Linked DNA regions of Homo sapiens: region 1 is linked to region 2. Evidence: promoter capture Hi-C in 16 types of primary human blood cells and fetal thymus (Javierre and others, 2016). All regions are on one chromosome and are shown on one strand. The core of a region is centred on a gene start or on the middle of the fragment in contact, and the rest is flanking DNA. Distances in the headings are between cores, read along the strand shown.

The links. The method cuts DNA at HindIII sites, captures the fragments that hold promoters and counts their contacts. A CHiCAGO score of 5 or more calls a contact.
Region 1: a fragment that was not itself captured here is called in contact with the fragment with the promoter of AP2S1 in region 2 in 1 of 17 cell types (total B cells); the score reaches 5.8 in total B cells.

What each region holds. Positions count from the first base shown.
Region 1 is chr19:46,525,811-46,529,152 of GRCh38, reverse strand. It overlaps the pseudogene PPP5D1P. Among named protein-coding and RNA genes, the nearest start is that of PNMA8B, 32 kb to the right of the region's middle. The HindIII fragment of the contact is 4,232 bases long and covers 1-3,342 here.
Region 2 is chr19:46,849,144-46,852,437 of GRCh38, reverse strand. It overlaps AP2S1 (adaptor related protein complex 2 subunit sigma 1), which reads left to right and starts at 1,592. Exons shown (of 5, transcript NM_004069.6): 1 at 1,592-1,674. The coding sequence starts at 1,672. RefSeq lists an enhancer at 1,268-1,577. The HindIII fragment of the contact is 13,627 bases long and covers 1-1,953 here.

The DNA of each region.
Region 1 (3,342 bases), core at 34-2,533, 320 kb after region 2:
AGCTGCCAGCCACTCATCTCTTGAACTGGCCCAGGCCTGGGGCCCTGTGTCCCCAGGCAGAGCTCCCATAGTTCCCCGTTAGCCTAGAGGGTCACAGCTCCCAGTCCCCCAGTGTGGGTCCTGCCACTCATGGGCCCTGGTGGGCCTGAGAATCTAGTGGGCCTCCTGGGGTAGGCTCTGTCCCTGAATGGGCAGAAACAACCTTTCAGCTCTCACAGTGGGGTGACATAGTGGACGAGGGATGGGGGATGCTGGGTCTCTGGACGCATGCCTGGGGGTCTCCCTAGGGGGTTGATGGTTTTGGCCTTCAGGCAGAAAGAACCTGGTGGCAAAGTTCCAGAGGTTAGCGGAGCCTAGCATGGAGGCGGTGAGTGGGGCTGCAGTGTGTGTGCGTGGGGGTTATGATGAAGCTGCAGGGAGCAGATCACGCAGGGCCGTGGGGAGAGCCAGGGCTTTCTGCGGGAGGCTCTGGGAGCCCTGGGAGGTTCCGAGTAGGGAAAGGACAGGGTCAGGTTTGTGCCTTAGGAACACCCCTCTGGAAGGGCAGGACAAGAGGCTGTGAGGCCAGGTGGAGGCTGAGCCAGGAACGTGGGCAGGAGAGGCCAGGTCAGGGCTGGGTGGGGCTGGAGGGTGAGAAGGGAATGGCTGGATCTGAGAGATGTTCAGGAGGCCGACTTGGCAGAAGAAGTGAAGTGACTGCCGGGCTGTGGGGGCTGAGGGGTCGGGAGGAGTCCAGGATGAGGCTCAGTCTCAGCTGGGTGATGGGGTGGAAGGTGGACTTCCCTGGGATGGGAGCAGCCTGCTTGGGGGTTGCTGCTGAGGCTGCGTCAGAGTTCCGGGCAACAGCAGCCTTTGGGAGGGGCCCCTTACCCCCCAGGACCCCGGATCCAGGCTCTCAGGAGTCCTGGGGCTGGGCAGGCAGCCAGAGGGGCCTGGCACTGAGCTGGCACGGAGGAGAACGGCCCTGCTGGCCCAGGCCCCTCGCTGTCTGGCAGGCAGTAGAAGGCACAGAGCCCCAGGCTCCAGGGCTGTGGGAATAACAATAAGAAGAATAATGACAACTCACCTTGGCCAGGTGCGGTGGCGCATGCCTATAATCCCAGCACTTTGGGAGGCTGAGGTGGGCAGGAGGTCAGGAGTTCCAGATCAGCCTGGCCAACATGGTGAAACCTCCATCTCTACTAAAAATACAAAAATTAGCTGGGGGTGGTGTCAGGCGCCTGTAATCCCAGCCACTCAGGAGGCTGAGGAAGGAGGATTGCTTGAACCCAGAATATGGAGGTTGCAGTGAGCTAAGATTGCGCCACTACACTCCAGCCTGAGTGACAGAGTGAGACTCCATCTCAAAGTAATAATAATAATAATAATTACAGCTCATCTTAATTGAGCCCTGCGGTGGCCAGGTATGCCATGGCGTTTCATCTCCCTAGGGGCTGGGAGATGGCTAGGAACAGCCCTGTTTGTTTCATAGAGGAAGCATATTAATCAGAGTTCTCCAAAGAGACAGAATCAACAGGATATGTGTAGACAGAGATAGGAGAAGGGGTTTATTGGGCAACTGGCTCATTCAATTATGGAGGCGGAGAAGTCCTGAGGCTGTGTGCAGGCTGGAGACCCTGGGATGCAGGGAGTGTGGCTCAGAACAAGTCCGAAGGCCTCAGAACTGGGGAAGCCAACGGTGTAATTCTCAGTCCGAAGCCAAAGGCCTGAGGATTTGAGGGGCAGCTGGCGTAAGTCCTGGAGTCCAAGGCTGGGAAGCCTGGAGTTGTCGCTGCCTGCACTGGTTCCCACGGGGGACCAGGAGCTGAGCCCATGGTCCTCAGACGGGCAAGGTGTTTGATTTTAATGTAGTTATAGCTAAGGTTGATGAAGTGTGCCGGTGTGAGCAGCTTAGCTATGGACAGTTTTGGGGTGCAGAAACCAAGACTTGGAGGTTAAACATGTCCAGGGTTGCACCATCAGCACTGGTGCCCGGGCAGCCTGACTTCCGCGTTCATGGAATCCAGGGCTGGGCAGCCTGGGGACAGCCGCTGTGCCCCCACCTCGGCCTCAGTGTGCACGCCCCTTCCCTCCCACCCAGGTGGTCAAGGTGAAGCCCCACGACAAGGATGCCAAAATGAAATACCAGGAGTGCAACAAGATCGTGAAGCAGAAGGCCTTTGAGCGGGCCATCGCAGGCGACGAGCACAAGCGCTCCGTGGTGGACTCGCTGGACATCGAGAGCATGAGTGAGTCAGGCCTGGATGCTCCACGCTCCAGCCCAGAACATTCCACACGGGCCTTCTCCATTCCCTGGGGGTGGGGGTGGGCTCAAGGGTAGCCCCTTGTTCTGCCCCCAGGCTGCTGTCTGTCGCTCCTCTGCCTGTGTTCCAGGGCGCTCCATCCGCAGCCCAAAGCTCCGTCTCATGATTCCCAATGGGCGAGGTCAGGAGCTGCAACACCCCGCTGATATGGCTTGGCTGTGTCCCCACCCAAATCTCATCCCCACCCAAATCTCATCTTGAATTGTAACTCCCATAATTCCTACATGTTGTGGGAGAGACCTGGTGGGAGATAATTGAATCGTGGAGGCAGTTTCCCCCATACTGTTCTCGTGGTAGTGAGTAAGTCTCACGAGATCTGATGGTTTTATAAGGGGTTTCCCCTTTCACTTGGTTCTCATTCTCTCCTGCCTGTCGGCACATGAGACGTGCCTTTCATCTTCCACCATGATTGTGAGACCTCCTCAGCCACATGGAACTGTGAGTCCATTAAACCTCTTATTCTTTATGAATTACCCAGTCTCGGGTATGTCTTTATCAGCAATGTGAAAATGGACTAATACACCTTCCCTACCCACCAGCATCACCCCTGCCCGGGCCCTTCTCCATGCTGGCTTCTTGGCCACTCTGTCATCCTCTCCTCCCTCCCTCTCTGCCGGCAGTAGCCCCGCCCCCACAGGCTGTGTCTGGTTCACCTCTAGGTGCTGAGAAGGTCCAGCCATTCATCCCACAGATGATTATTGAGCATCTCCTATGTGCCAGGCACTGTCCTAGGCACTGGGGGTACAGCTATGAACAAAACCCTTCCTGTCCGCATGGAGCTGATATTCTAGGAGGCAGATAAGATGATGAACAAGTCACAAAATGAATCGTGCTAAGTGCCATAAAACTGAATAGGGTAAAGGGGGGCGGGTGAAGGAAGAGAAGGAGGTCAGGAAGAGGCCTCTGGGCCAGACCTGACCAGAGAGGGGACTCTTCACTCGCTCTGTCCCTCTCTCAATCTGTGTGTCCAGAGCCAGGTCCACCTCATCCCTGGGAGCAAGACCCCCTTCCCCCTTACAGTGGCCGTGGTCGCTGACTC
Region 2 (3,294 bases), core at 343-2,842:
AACTCACTACCTAATGAGAGATCTAGACAAACATACACACATACTCATAGGGCAAATAAAATAATTTTTAAAATGTAATAAAGGCCATTTAAAAAATCACGCCTGTAATCTCAATACTTTGGGAGGTGGAGGAGGGAGGATCGCTTGAGCTCAGGAGTTCAAGAGCAGCCTAGGCAACATAGCAAGACCCTGTCTCTACAAAAAGTACAAAAAATTAGCCAGGTGTGACGGCATGTGTATGTAGTCTCAGCTACTCGGGAGGCTGAAGTGGGAGGATCACTTGAGCCCAGCAGGTTGAGGCTTCAGTGAGCTGAGATCATGCCACTGCGCTACAGCCTGGGTGACCAAGGGAGACCCTCTTTCAGAAAAAAGCAAAAACAAAGACACACCAAAAAAACACTAAACTAACTGCTGACCTGGAGGGTTTTTTTTTTTTTTGACAGAGTTTCGCTCTTGTCATTCCAGCTAGGGTGCAATGGTGTGATCTCGGCTCACTGCAACCTCTGCCTCCCAGGTTCAAGCAATTCTCCTGCCTCAGCTTCCCGAGTTGCTGGGATTACAGGCACCTGCCATCACACCCAGCTAATTTTTATATTTTTAGTAGAAATGGTTTCACCGTGTTGGCCATGCTGGTCTCGAAGTCCTGACCTTAGGTGATCCACCCACCTCAGCTTCTCAAAGTGCTGGGATTACAAGCATGGGCCATCATGCCCCCGCCAAACTAGAGATTTTTTTTTTTTTTTGGAGTCTCTCTCTATTGCCCAGGCTGGAGTGCAGTGGCGAGATCTGGGCTCACTGCAACCTCTGCCTCCGGGCTTCAAGTGATTCTCCTGCCTCAGCCTCCCGAGTAGCTGGGACTACAGGTGCGCACCACCATGCCTGGCTAATTTTTTGTATTTTTAGTAGAGATGGGGTTTCGCCATGCTGGCTAGGCTGGTCTCGAACTCCTAACCAAGTGATCTGCCTGCCTCGGACTCCCAAAGTGCTGGGATTACAGGAGTAAGCCACCGCGCCGGGCCGGTTCAAATTTATGCTTTTAAACTGTTGTCTCCCGAGAGACACACGCAACGTATTTTAAGCAAAACACTGGCTTGGTGTTGTGGTGGCTCATGCCTGTAATCCTGGTGATTTGGAAGGCTGAGGGTCGCTTGAAGCTGAGTTCGAGATCAACCTAGGCAATATATCTAGACCCCTGTCTCTATTTTTAAAAAAATTAAAGAAATCACTGGATGAGGAATGGAAAGACATTTTCTATCTCCCCAGGACAGTTTTTTAAAATTTAAAACTACTATTCCCAGCATGCCCTTCTCCCCTGGGTGGGGGGAGGGGACCTAAGAGAACTACATTTCCCTGAATGCAACGCCTTCACCGCTGGTTCTTCAGCATCTCGGGAATTGTAGTCCTCTGTAAAGATGTTTGTCCACAAATCCCAGCATGCACTTGGGATCTGACTCGTTTGGTAGGAAAAGGACTGGCTCTGACTCTTCACCCATCTTCACCCAGGCTGGCCCCTTTGGTGAAACTACAACTCCCAGGGGTCTGTGCGCGAGAAGGCAGGCGGGTTTTTCTACCGGAAGTCCGCTCTAGCTCTGGGCCCTACAACTGCACCCTGAGCCGGAGCTGCCCAGTCGCCGCGGGACCGGGGCCGCTGGGGTCTGGACGGGGGTCGCCATGGTAACGGGGGAGCGCTACGCCGGGGACTGGCGGAGGGGGGGCCCACGCGTAAATAGCCGAGGCTGGATCGGGCGCTGACAAGTCCCTTCTCTGCCGCGGATGGTCTGGGTCAGGCGCGGGCTCTGGGGATTGGGACCGATCCAGGGCCGGGAAGGAGGGCACAGGGCGGTGATTCTGCGCGCGGGGGTTACCAGGGGTCTCGCGGCGACGGGCATTGGGGGTGGTGTTCCAAGGGGAAAGGGCTGTGCAGGTGGGAAACGTTGTAGATGGTTGGAAGCTTTGAAACGAGAGGAAACTCGTGAGACACAGTCTTGTGGGTAGCGAGAAGGCATTGGAGGTGGGGAGAGGGCGTCCGAAAGAGGAAGGCGCTCTGGAAGTGTGGCGGGAGCGCTGGGACGAGAACGCGAGACCTTGGAAAAGGGGAGGGAGGTTTTCTTGATGGGAGGAGTCTCTAGAGACAAGGATCTGATTGCAGGTGGAGAGGGGATGTTGAGACAGGGGCAGGAGACTGCCTGTGAGAGAGGGATGATCTCAAGAAGAGACCTGGCACAGGAAACCAAAAGGAGGCAACTGTAGGGAATGAAACTTAAGGGTCTGGGAAAGCGCTGTAAAAGGAGAGAGGACCTGGAGGTAAGATGGACACTCGGAAAGAATGGGGAGCAACTGAATAGGTCTTTCCAAGAGGAGAGATCTTGTGGGGTGGGGAGTAGGCTTGAAAGTGTGAGACCTGGGGAGGAATCTTTGTTGGGGCAAAGACTCAACATTGGATTTAGGAGTGCCCCTATCCCCCAGGTTGGGGCTTTGGATCTAGGAAAGGGTTCTTTGGGCTGGAAGTTGGGAAAGAAAACGAATGAGAAAGAGTGTCAGAGCGGGGGCGGAGTCTCCTCCAGGAACAGGGTCCTTGGAGGCAAAATGTGACCTTTTGAAGAAGGGAGGAAGCTTGGGAGTGGGACAAGGGATGTCACCAGTAAAAAGCCCATTGAGGCCCCAAGGAGGGGAACTGAGACTGAGAAAGTGGAGGTCAAAAGGGAACAACTCCAGAGGAGGGGGATTGGAGACAGGGAAGGTTGGGGGGCATCTAGAGGGGACAGCAGAGGCGTGAGGATGCAGAGATTCAGGACGGAGGGGACTTGAGATTCCAAATGGGAAGAAAACAGGGAGAGGTATACAAGGGAATTTGGGAGTAAGAGGCAGAGCTTTTTGTCAACTCTGTGGGTTTGCTTCTAGTTCTCCTAACTGTGTGAATATGTCTCCGGCTCTGCTCCCAGGCTGTGGCTGCCTGGTGTAGGCCCCCCAACGTCCCTTCCTGCCTGGGACCCCTGCCCTGCTAGGAAGTGGTTTTCCCTGGCTCAGCAGGAGTTCTTGGAAGGAGAGTGTAACATCCTGTTCCGGTCCAGTTTGGTTGGTTGGGGGAGGGAGGATAGAGTGTGTGGAGAATGAGGCTTAGGAAAGACTCTCAGGCTGGGGCGGTGACTCATGCCTGTAATCCCAGCACTTTGGGAGGCTGAGGCAGGCGGATCACATAAGGTCAGGAGTTCGAGACCAGCCTGGCCAACGTGGTGAGACCCCGTCTCTACTAAAAATACAAAAATAAGCCAGGTGTGGTGGTGGATGCCTGTA